Regions from separate parts of the Homo sapiens genome. Here region 2 is linked to region 1. Evidence: promoter capture Hi-C in 16 types of primary human blood cells and fetal thymus (Javierre and others, 2016). All regions are on one chromosome and are shown on one strand. Each heading gives the region's core, a stretch centred on a gene start or on the middle of the fragment in contact. The rest is flanking DNA. Distances are from core to core; before and after follow the strand shown.

What was found. Contacts are between HindIII fragments. The CHiCAGO score rates a contact against its expected background, and 5 or more counts as called.
Region 2: a contact is called between the fragment with the promoter of KLHL35 here and the fragment with the promoter of MAP6-AS1 in region 1, in 1 of 17 cell types (endothelial precursors). The highest score is 5.6, in endothelial precursors.

Annotation. Positions count from the first base shown.
Region 1 is chr11:75,579,595-75,585,486 of GRCh38, reverse strand. It overlaps MAP6-AS1 (MAP6 antisense RNA 1), which reads right to left and starts at 2,291. Exons shown (of 2, transcript NR_145823.1): 1 at 2,206-2,291. RefSeq lists an enhancer at 678-1,257 and silencers at 2,004-2,153, 2,164-2,273. The HindIII fragment of the contact is 6,298 bases long and covers 1-5,832 here.
Region 2 is chr11:75,430,356-75,436,247 of GRCh38, reverse strand. KLHL35 (kelch like family member 35) reads left to right here and starts at 3,045. Exons shown (of 7, transcript NM_001039548.3): 1 at 3,045-3,205; 2 at 5,618-5,892. The coding sequence starts at 5,619. GDPD5 (glycerophosphodiester phosphodiesterase domain containing 5) reads left to right here. Exons shown (of 17, transcript NM_030792.8): 17 at 593-1,608. The coding sequence ends at 741. RefSeq lists an enhancer at 3,521-4,407 and a silencer at 5,696-5,892. The HindIII fragment of the contact is 7,064 bases long and covers 1,044-5,892 here.

The DNA.
Region 1 (5,892 bases), core at 1,042-3,541:
GCTGTGGGGAGGACGGCTGGGAGCTGCCAGCGGGCCTGGGGCTCAGCCTCAGTCAAAGATGGGTCCGGCCGGGATGCCACTGGCAGGGGCCGCAAGGCCATATTACAGCCTCCCTTTCAAAGCCCAGAGCCCCCAAGAAGCTAGGGTGGAGGCTCCACCAGTTGCCCCCACCAAAGCTGGCTCCCAAGGAATACTGCTATCCCTTTCAAAGGAGCTCAGCTCAGTTCTTACAGGAAAATCATCAGAGGAAATACAGTATGGAGGACACCCAAATAGTCTAGTTTTCTAAGCAAGCCTTCCCCATCCAACTGGCCCCAAGCCTGCCTCCTCACCCCGTTCCCAACAGCACTAGGGTTTTGTCTATACACACACAAACACACACACACACACACACAGAGAAAGAGAGAGAGAGACGTTTCTTCACAGTGAGGTTGGCTTTTTTTGGCCCAACACAAAAGTAGCCCTCAGAGCTTGCTGCCATATGAGCTCCAATAGTCAGAAACCTGAAGATAAGACAAGGCCACATTGAGGCTAAAGAATTGCGTGTGAAGGTCGGGCTCGATGGCTCACGGCTGTAATCCCAGGACTTTGGGAGGCCGAGGTGGGTGGATTATTTGAGGTCAGGAGTTCAAGAGCAGCCTGACCAACATGGTGAAACCCTGTCTCTACTAAATATACCAAAATTAGCTGGGTGTAGTGGCAGGCACCTGTAATCCCAGCTACTTGGGAGGCTAAGGCACGAGAATCGCTTGAACCTGGGAGGCAGAGATTGCAGTGAGCTGAGATCTAGCCACTGCACTCCAGCCCGGGCGATAGAGCGAGACTCTGTCTCAAAAAAAAAAATCGCATGTGGACACCTTCCTCCTCCTCCCAGTCCTTCCTCTGACCCACACACCAGGTCCCATGACACACACGTTTCCACAGGCCAAGCGAACCGTGGCGCCATCTCTGAGAAGCAGAACAAGGTTTCCCTGAGGGCCTCCGAGACACCCGGGGGCAGATGTCCAGGCCACTGGCTACCAAGGCTTGACCTCTGAAGAGACGTCTGGAAACAGGGCCTGGTAGTCAGCTGCCCTGGGGCTGGGGGGAGGATGGTCACAAGCCCCACATGAAGGACGCTGCGCTCCCTCAGAGAGTGTCAGAATGGAAAGAGATGTGGGTCCTGTTCCAAGCGTTGCGGACTTAAGAGGTCAGAGAGAATCGCCCAGAAAAAGTTCAGAGGGGCTGGCCCGGAGCTGTAAGGAGGAACCAGGGAACTGTGGTGCCCGGAGTGATTCAATCAGGAGACAGTGAGGCCGGGTCGAAAGCTGGGAGGGCCGGCGCAGATGAGGACTGAGGGGTGGCCGCTAGATCTGGCAGTTTCTGCTATGAGCCCAGAGCCAGCCCCTCAACATCTTCATTTGCAAGCCGGTCCTGACGCACAGAGCAGCGCCTCTGAGCTGCAGGCCTTCCCAGCTCAGTCCAGTCCAGCCCTCCACTACCCAGAAAGAAGGCCCAGTGCGGGAGGAGGGGCTCTGGGTCCCCATCTTGGGGTGGGGCAGGGAGGGCGGGGGCGCACCCGACTCTCCTGGCCCTTCTTACAAGCAGGCTTCACTCGAGGCCTAGCTCCTCCCTGCGGCAGCCACTTCCCAGTCTCCCGCGGCGTCCCCTTCCCCACCTCTCCCTCCTCCCTCCTCTCCTTCTTCCTCCCAGCTGCGGGAACTCACAAAGCAGGGGCGACCGCAACCCCGCAGTCCGCGGGCTCCCGCGCCCCTGCTGCAGCCGCCCGGGGAGGGGAGAGGACGGCCCCGCGGCGCCGCAGAAAGGGCGCCCCTACGCCGCGAGGGGCAGGGAGTCGGGGGGTCTCTGGAATGGGAGGCTCCCCACCCGGCCCAGAGGCAAAGGCGACCCGCTGAAACTGGATGGGCCGGCGGCGGAACTCCGACCCGAGAGTCCCACTCCGAAGATGCCCAGGCTCGGGAGGGCGTCTCCGCCCACAGAGCCCCGCTACCAGGGCTCTCGGCTCGGAAACAGCAGCCCCCGTCCCCGCGCACTCGCACAGCCCCCCGCCTGCAGGCTCATCTCCGGCCCCGCCCCGGGCTCCGGGCTCCGCCGCCCGTGCAGCCTGGCCCCGCGAGACCTCGGGACGCGGGATCGGGCCGGTGGGAAGGATAGTGCCCTGGCGAGGGTGGGCGAAAGAGGCCCCGGTATCTGCGCTCTGCCTACCCGCTTTGGGCCGCTAGAAGGCCTGGCTGGGAGACCCTTTCCGGGAGCTGGGCCGAGGCCTCTCTGGAGTCCCCGGTGGCTGGTCTGGGGAAAGGCCGCGATGTTAGTCCTCACACAATGGACCCCACCCGTGATACCTGCCGACGCCCCACACGGCCTAGGCACCTTGTGCCATATTGGGGGAGCGGGGAGACGGTCTATGTGGACAAGGGACAGGAGCCAACTCGGACTGGAGCGACACTTTCGGGAGTCTGTGCCGCTGAGTGGATGGATGGTCTAGAGGAAGTGGGTGGGAATGCACTCGGGTTGACCCAGTTCTCAGCCAGAAACCGGGAAATCCTTTTCAGTACCAGTCTCCGACCCTCAGCTTCCAAACTATCAGTAAGACCTGCCTGGCCTTCCTGCTAAATAGCAAATTTGCCCACTTTTCACTATCTCTATGGCCACCCCCTCTTACCTCACCCATCTCACAATTTGTAATTCAGTCTATGCATCACAGCATGGCACTCAGGTGTAAGAAATGCCACGTCTTTATTTTGGTAAATCTAATTAAATAGACTGGGAGCCCCCTTCTCTCGTTGCCACGGTTGACAGGAAATCTGATATTAGTCATTTTCCTGGAGCCTCATCCTGTCTTTGGGGCTTATCACAATTCCAGGAGGTTCAGGCCATCCTGAGAAGAATCACTATGGCTTCCCTGAGCCCAAGCCGGGGGGCTGGCAGCCCCTCTCCCTCTCCCTAGGGCTTGGCTGGGGACCTCCCAAAGCCTGCCCAGGTTGTGGTATTTCTGCCCAGTTTGCCCAGGCATTCCTATAGCTTCCACATCTGAGCCCATCCCTCAGAGGCCCTGCAACCCAGCCCGCAGGCGCGTGGCCCTTTCTGCACACCTTCATTCCCGGAGGGAAGCCACTCCATCCCTCATCCATCAAAGCACCTGCACTTTCACTCCCTCTCCACCTTGGGCCATCAGTTCAACATCCTCTGCTGGGTGTGGTGGTGCATGCCTGTAGTTCCAGCTATTTCGGAGGCTGAGGCTTGAACCCAGGAGCTCAAGGCTGCAGTGAGCTCTGATCATTCTACTGTGCTCAAGAGCCCATCTCTTGAAGTGGGGGGAAAAGGGGAAAAATCCTCTACGGCGTTTATTCTGGTTCTGGGTGGGCCAGGGCTTCACTGTTTTACATTCCCACCCACAGTGTAGGAGGGTTCCAGTTTCTCCACATCCTTACCAACACTTGTTATTGTCCATCTTTTTCATGTAGCAGTAATTTCTTTGGCTTGTTCCAGAATCTTACATTTTTTTCTTACATAAAAATTGGTATCTAATAAATATGAGTAGATCTCTATTGTTGTGTGGATTAATGGGAATCCAGGAAACAGCTTGTTTTGGCAGGAGGATGGACTCAATTTGGTGTCCAGACTTCTGGACATGGTGGTCTGAGACTGGGAAAAGGGTCTGAGCTGAAGGCGGAGATGCAGACCTCATTGAAATGTGAGCCTCGCCAACCCACAGAAGGTAAAAAGGCTATGAGAGAGGGTGAGTTTACCCAGCAGGAGTGTGGAAAGCGAGAGACGGATGGGGTCAGGTCAGAGCGCTGGGAAACACCCACATTCAGGGGACAGGCAAAAGAAGGAGCCCCCAAGTGGAGGCTGCCCTAAAGCAGCAGAGGAGTCAGAAGAAAACTAGAAAGGAATGTCACCTTGGGGAAGACATCAAGGATGAAGAGTTAACAGGGTTAGAGACCATAACGGCTTCCCTGCAATATGGATTTAGAATCTGTTGAACAAAATGGGCAAAATGTCGTTACATATTGAAGTTTTGTGATGGGTACTATTATTTATTTATTTTGAGATGGAGTCTCACTCTGTCGGCCAGGCTGGAGTGTGGTAGTGAAATCTCCGCTCACTGCAACCTCCGCTTCCCAGGTTCAAGTGATTCTCCTGTCTCAGCCTCCCGAGTAGCTGGGACTACAGGCGCACACCACCACGCCTAGCTAATTTTTGTATTTTTAGCAGAAACAGGATTTCACCATGTTGGTCAGGCTGGTCTTGAACTCCTGACCTCAGGATCTGCCCGCCTCAGCCTCCCAAAGTGCTGGGATTACAGGCGTGAGCCACCGTGCCCAGCTATGTGTACTATTATTTAATTGTCATGTATGTTGGAATTTTTTTCATAGGCGCGAAATTAGTTTTTTTTGTTGTTGTTGTTGTTTTGAGATGGAGTCTCACTCTGTTGCCAGGCTGGAGTGCAGTGGTGTGATCTCGGCTCACTGCAACCTCCGCCCCCCAGGTTCAAGTGATTTTCCTGCCTCAGCCTCCCGAGTAGCTGGGACTACAGGCGCATGCCACCATGCCCAGCTAATTTTTTGTATTTTTAGTAGAGATGGGGTTTCACCATGTTGGCCAGGATGGTCTCGATCTCTTGACCTCGCGATCTGCCCGCCTCGGCTTCCCAAAGTGCTGGGATTACAGGCATGAGCCACTGCATCCGGCTGAAATTAGTTTTTTTTAAAGTAGCAATAAAGAGATCACTGACTTTGGCAATTGTAGACTCTCTAGAGTAGAAGAAACAGAAGCCCGATTTCGGATAAGGGGGATAAGAAAGGAGAGAAGTCAAGTGTGTTTTCATACCTGATGCATAATTTACTGACATCTCATTTAGCAACCACTGAGCACATATAACCCAAGTATCCCTGAGAAAAGAACACACTGTGTGTTACAGTCATTAATTACTTTCACAATCCCTTGGTGCCTCCCACACTGAGACCACTGTCAGCTAAGCCCAGCCAGCAGTGAGCCAAGAGTCCTTCCCCAAAAGGAGGAAAACTGCTTGCTAAGGAGCACCAGGCTTCACTCCTAAATTGTAGATACTCCATTTTGATTCTTCTATCAGAGTTTGCCATGGGTTCAAATACCATCCCATCTGCCGCAGACACTTGAGCCATCTTGGGATCGGCTGGGCTATCAGGGCCATGTGGCAGAGCTGCTTGCCTTTCATTCTGGACCACCTGGAAACTTTCCTTTTCTCTGGACCCCACTCCAACCCTGCAGCCTTATAGGTTACTCAATAACCTTATAAGGATCAGAGAAACACACCAATATATTTTGCTTCCAGAATACATAGAAGCCCAAGAAGTGTTGTGCTTATTAGCAGTAAGAGGCAGAAAGCCCAGCAAGTTGTCTTTCATTTTGCAGGGATCCAGATCACTGAACACCCAGGAACTTCACGTGGTTGGCAGGCCCCTATGTTCTCATGAAACTTACTTCCATTCTTAGGCACACTTATGTCTTATTGATGCATCTGAAGTACCCACTGCTTCTCCTTCTCCCAATCCTAGCAACATAGTATAATCAATGTAGTGGACAAATATAATGGCCTGTGATATGGGAGGATGATCAAAATCTACATAGAAAATCAGAGACTTGAGGAGTTTCAAGACAAGATGAGAAAGGTGTACTGCTATCCCTGCCAACAGAAAGAAAACTGCTAAGGGGACTGTCTGTAGAGGACAAGAAAACATAACTCATCAGATAGTTTTACATTGTGACAAAAAAACAATTATAATTCCCATAAAAAGACCACACCTGGAATAATAGCATCTGCAACTGAACTCACCACCTGAGTAAGCTTACAGTAATGACCTGTCATTCTCCAAGACCCGTGCCTTCTGCACAGACCAAATAGATGAG
Region 2 (5,892 bases), core at 1,796-4,295, 150 kb after region 1:
GAACTCCACTCAGCAGAGCTTTCTTGAGCCTCTGCTCTGTGTCCAGCACTCTACCAGGCCCTGGGGACATAGATGCCCAGAACCCACCCTGGTCCTTGAGGTATTTTGGGGGCCCAGGCAGCAACCATACAGAATATGGCCAGGGCAGAAGGAAGCAGGGTCTGGAGTTGCCATGAGGAGGCCCTAACTCGGCCCAGGGCTCCGATGAGGTTCCCAGGAGGCTGAGTGACAGATGAGAAGACTTGAGCCAGACTGTAGGAAAAGGAGGTGTTGTTGGGGCAGTCACTCCTAAGAGAGGGGCTGACACATGCAAAGGCCCTGAGGAGAGTGGACACATGGGTGCCAAGCTCAGGGGCACAGGTGGTTTTCTGTGGCTGCAGAGTCCCAGGGGACAGCAGATGAAGGCGAAGCTAGAGTGCTCAGCAGACACCAAAGGGGCCTTGAGTGCCAGGCTCAATGTCGACCTGAGCCCAGTGGTTTCATCAGCCTCCAAGTGCCCCGCTGGGTGGTGCAGCCTTCCTGCCCCATCTGTCACCCATCCTCACGACTGCCTCCTCCCCGACTCACATTCTGTCTCCCTCTGGCCCAGCAGAGATCAGCGATGGTGTAGAGGTCTCCGATGTGCTCTCCGTATGTTCAGACAACAGTTATGACACATATGCCAACAGCACCGCCACCCCTGTGGGCCCCCGAGGGGGTGGCAGCCACACCAAGACCCTCATAGAGCGGAGTGGGCGTTAGCTGAAGACATGTCTGTCCCACCTGTACCTGACACAGAAGCTGGGGAGCCTAGGAGAGCTGGTGGAAGTGTGTCTGAACTCGGAGTGCTCTGGGAGCGGGCTCCACAGCCTCCTTGTGGGCTCCAGCCCCTTGTCAGCCGCAGCCTCTCTTGAGGGGGACTCCCTGTCTCCTGAGGCCCAGCTGGGCCAGGACTCCATCCTTTCAGATGCCCCTGCAGGCCTGGGGCTCCTTCTGGGAAGTATGGGGCCTAGGGCTTGGTCCCCCTCTTCTGAGGCCCTCTCCTGTATCCCGACCTGGAAGCTTTGATGGGTCATGGGCCATGCCATACCCCCTGTGGCAATGGAGTGTGTGGATGCTCACCTGTGCCATCTGTCCTCCTGTCTGTGCCAGGAGGCACCTGAGTTCTCTGCTGTTATCCTGCCCCAAGGGCCTGGGCCGAGCCTCTACCTGAAGCAACTCTGCTCTTCCTGTCAGTCTCAAAGCACAAGGAGGTTCAGCCCAGGAGGAAGCCAGCTGCAATGTGGAGACACGTCCTCCTCCCCAACCCACCTCATGCCACCGCCAACCCCCTGCCCCAGGAGCGGGCCTGAGCCACGTCCTCTAGGAGCAGCTGGAGATGGCCAAAAGAGTGAGCTCAGGACTACTGGATCCCATGCCCAGGTGTCCAGCAGACCTCAAGGCAGAAGGGTCACCTAACCCAGGAGTCCACAGACTGATGTGACCTCAGGTTCCCACATCAGTGGCCACAGGGCAGGGCCCACCTGGTAGAAGTGTTCTGGATATGGCCAGGGTGGGTGTGTGGCTAAGTGGGCCTGAACAGAGGGAACCTAGGGCCCTTGGCCAATGTGATTAAAGCTGCCATCTTGATGTGTGTTGTCTCTGAATTGCCAGCAGGAGGGTGGGGACAAGTGCGCTGGGTCTAGGTTTCAGTTCTGACCCTATAATCTGAGGAGGAACCATTCTCAGGAATGAATGGGAAAGTGGCAGAATGGTGCCTCCCCTTCCCTGGGTCCGCCATGGTGCCAGTGGCTGGGAGCCGGTATCCTCATATGGTGGATGGGGAGACAGTCTTGGAGAGGTAAAGTGACCTCCAAAAGCCACACAGCTTAGAACAGGCCAAGCCAGAATCCCATCCAGACTCTGGCCCCAGCGCATATGTGTGCCTCCCATAAGCTAGGAATGACACGCAGAGGGGGAGGGCTCCTGGGTCCAATGTAGGGCTGGGAGTGGGACTGGCAGGTGCCCTCACAGCCACATGAAGGCATTCTGAACCTCCCGGCTATGTTGGGACAAGCCCTCAGCACAGGGAGGCCTCTTCCCCATGCCAGGAGTTTGGCTTTGACTTCTCCGAGCTTTGGACCTGCCTGAGGAGGGCCCATGCCCATGCCCAGGACTGGGGGCACCTGAGCTGAAAGCCAAAGTACAGCCCTGGGACCACAGGTGTCCTTTCCTTCCAGTCCTTGGGACCTCTGCTGTCTGTGGGCAGGAGTCAGTGGTGGTGTCAGAGCAGGCCTGTAACTCCCCTCTTTGTCCTGAGAGTCTGCCTGGTCATGGGTGTGACCTGAGGGAAAAGGGGGAAGCTGAGCCCCAGCTCCAGCCTGCATCAAATTAACTCCATGCTTCCTGGGAGCCAAGGGACGTGTCTCTTCCAAACAGGGATCTTCTGGATAGAATTCTTGGGGTCTAGGAGATTCTGGCACCTTATAGGTAAAAAAGAAAAGAGCCCTCTGCAAATGTTGGAAGCTCCACTGGGCCCCCACAGTAACCTCGAGGACCGGCCCTCCTGCCCCTGCTACTGAATGTCTGGCAAGTGCTCTGCTTCCTGGGGCAGAGGTCAGCTCCCGCCTCTCCCTGAGCTCAAGGGAATGAGACTCAGAGCCACTGTGCCCCCCGCCCCACATGCTTAGTCACATTGGCATCTACATGGTCACACAGCCACATGTCCACACGCAGCCCAATGCTACACAGTCACTTCATTCCATGTACTTCCACAATCACGCATAGTCACCCTGAAACCTACATGCCTACAACTGCATGATGACACCCCTCCCACACCCCAACTCCAGCACCACACACCTTCGAACCCATCGTCATTCCGGGACAAGGCCAGCACCAGGTCACCCCCAAACCCAGGCATACCAAATCCTGGAGTTCCACACACAGTCAATCCCACTCTTATGCCCCCCCTTTCTTTCCCTCCCTCCCAGGGCTAGTCCAAGAGTGGAACAAAAGCCCAGCATCCCCCTCCCTGCTCGCTTCTCCCTTCCCCTCCCTTCCCCTCCCTCCTGGCGTCCAGCCCCTTTGTCCTCCCGCAGCTGAGCCCGAGCGAACAGCAAACGGGAGTCTGGGCAGAGCAGCATGAACACTGGAGCTTGGGCTGCCAGGGGTGCGGGCGGCAGGCACAAACGGGAGTGATACCTGTGAGAGCAGCAGCTGCGGAGCACTTGGGAGAGGGTATGGCCAGGTAAGTGCCAGGTGCATGGGGCAAGGCTTAGGCTGCAGGGCTGACCCGGCTGCGTGGTGTCCGCAAGTCTGAGATGGGGAGGATGCGGAGGAGGTGCTTGGGTAATGGCTTCAAGTGGATGTGGGTGTGTAAAAGAGTGATGGTGGCATGTTCGAGTCAGCTTCTATAGGCTGGGCCCTTCAATCTGCATCATGACCCCTGGCTTGAAGTGCCTAGACTCAGCCGAGAAGGGAGGATACCCATTGAGCCCTACCTGGGAATTTTTACCTTCTGTGTTCCAACTGGGTGTCGTTTGACCCCCAGACTGGGGATCCCCAGAGTGAATGCTGGATCTGATGTCACTGTGTGTCCAGAGTGCCCAGCGCAGTAGACAGTAAAATGAAAAAGTACTGACACACTTCCTAGGAGGGGACTCTTTCTCCCCCAGGGAGCTGCTTGTGCTGTGGGGCACCTTTGCAAGAAGTCCATCCTTATGCTGATGAGACCTGCCCTCTTGAGTCTCAACTCAGAGCATGGTTGTGCTTTCTGAGCCAGTGGAGGACAGACTGGTTGCAGCGTGCTGTGATGACCGGTCTCACTTCCTTCCACCGGTCCTGGCTGCTCCTTGGGACACACCCCCACCCTGGCAAGTGTGGCATGCAAACCCTGGAGCCAGGTGGATTCAGGATCCAGTCGCTCTACTTGGGCAAAAGTAGTTAACTTTCTTGCCCACCAGGGAGCTCATCTCTCATGATGCTGACCAGGGGATCCGCTGCCCTGGATGACCAGGGCATGAAAGCCAGGCTGACACTAGGCGGGATCTGACCTCCAGAGGCAGCAGAGCAGCTGGGAGCAGGAGGATGGAAGGAGAGGCAGGGCGCAGAGGGTGGACCTGAGCCCCCTAGAGTAAGCTGATGGAAAGGAGGGAGCTCCCTGTCCCTGGAGGTGTGCAAGCAGAGGTTTTGTGTTCATAATGGCCAAATCATAACCAGCATGGCCCAGCCCCTCAGTCTGCAGAGCGCCTTCACAAACACCCCTCTGCTGAGCCTCGCCGCAAACTTCTGAAGGGCGGGTGTCCTGTGTGTGCTTGTTTCCCTTATGACAAACTAAAGGGGCAGGTGTGGGCTAAAGAAACTTCTCAGCTTGTGAGGATGAAATTAAATTATGTCTATAAAAGCAACTGGCACACACAGTGTCCTCCCTTCCTCTTGAGTAAAAGCAATATAGGGAAACACCCATGTAGCTCGTACTGTGTACTAGCACTTTTCATACAGCCCATGTAATAGTCATGAAGCCACAGCCCTGTGAGGTAGGGATGATGATCCCATTTCAGATGAGATAACTGAGGCCAGGGCGGGCAGGTGAGAGGAGTGACTTGCCCCGGCCACACCGTAAGCCTGTGGCAGGCACTGGGTTAGAATCCCCATTTGTCCCTAGAGTTCTTTCCACTTTCTGACGGTGCTACCTGGAGAACACCAAGAGAACTCACTAGAGAGAGGGCCAGCTTCCCTCAGCCTGGGCTCTAACCTTTCAGAATTCGCCCATCCTTCTCAGCTGGAAGGTTCCCCTCAGGGACGCCCTCCCTGACTCCCCTCCACCTGGGTCCAGCGGCCCTTCTATGAACTCCCCTAACACCCGGTGCCTCCCCATGGCACCCCCGCCAGGCTGGGAGCTCCGGGCACACCGTAACTATGGTTGTCTTGCTCACTGCCTGGCACAGAAAGGGCTCCCAATAAATACTTGTCGAATTCGTTTGCGCGAAAGCTGTGTGTATGATGCTGTCTGTCAGGGGAGTGCTCAGGGTGTGGTCAGTGTCCAGCACCTACCGGAGATCGGCAGGAGACAGGCTGGATTGAGCAGAGGGCGGTGGAGTTATTGTACCCTCTCTCCCCTGCACATGCACACACTGGGTCTCTGTGGGGCAGCCTGAGTCCCTTGACCCAGGGCTTCAGCTCCTGTCACGGGACCCTCCTTACACAGATATATTTCCAGGTTCCAGTAACTTCCCTGCTCTCCCGCTACAGACCCCGGGGCGGCCAAGGCGCCCTGCTGTTAGTATCCTGGGACACAGCCCTACTCCTACTGGAGTCCCTAACGCCTACTCCGCTGTTGAAAATAGTTCCTTTATTAGACCCTCCTCCGATTACCCTGTTTGAGAGCGTGCCATCTGTTACCTGCAGATATCGATAGGAAAACGCTTAGCAAGTTTGAAGAACCGAAAAGGGCACTGTGTCTGAGTGGGTAGGCAGGGCAGAATGTCGCGCTGGTGAGGCGGGGCTGGGGCACTGTAGCCGTAAGGAACCTGGATGCTGAACGGAGGGGAGAGTCGCTGAACAAATGGTCAAGAGAGGAAATAAACGGATGAGGGCTGTCGCCTCTCCCGGGCGCAGCCAGGTGGCTTCCCCGACGCTGTTTGTGTTCTCTCCCCGGCAGGATGCGGCAAGGCCATGCGCCGGAGGAGTCGGAGCCGGGCTGCGAAGCGCCGTGCGCGGGTCCGTGCCACGCGCAGCGCGTGCTGCAGGCCCTGAACGCCTACCGGCGGAGCGGCACCCTCACCGACGTGGTGCTGCGCGCCGGCGGGCGCGACTTTCCGTGCCACCGCGCGGCGCTCAGCGCGGGCAGCGCCTACTTCCGCAGCTTGTTCGCGGCCGGGCGGCCCGAGCGCGGCCCGGCCGTGGTGCCAGTGGTGCCAGTAGCTCCCGAGGCGC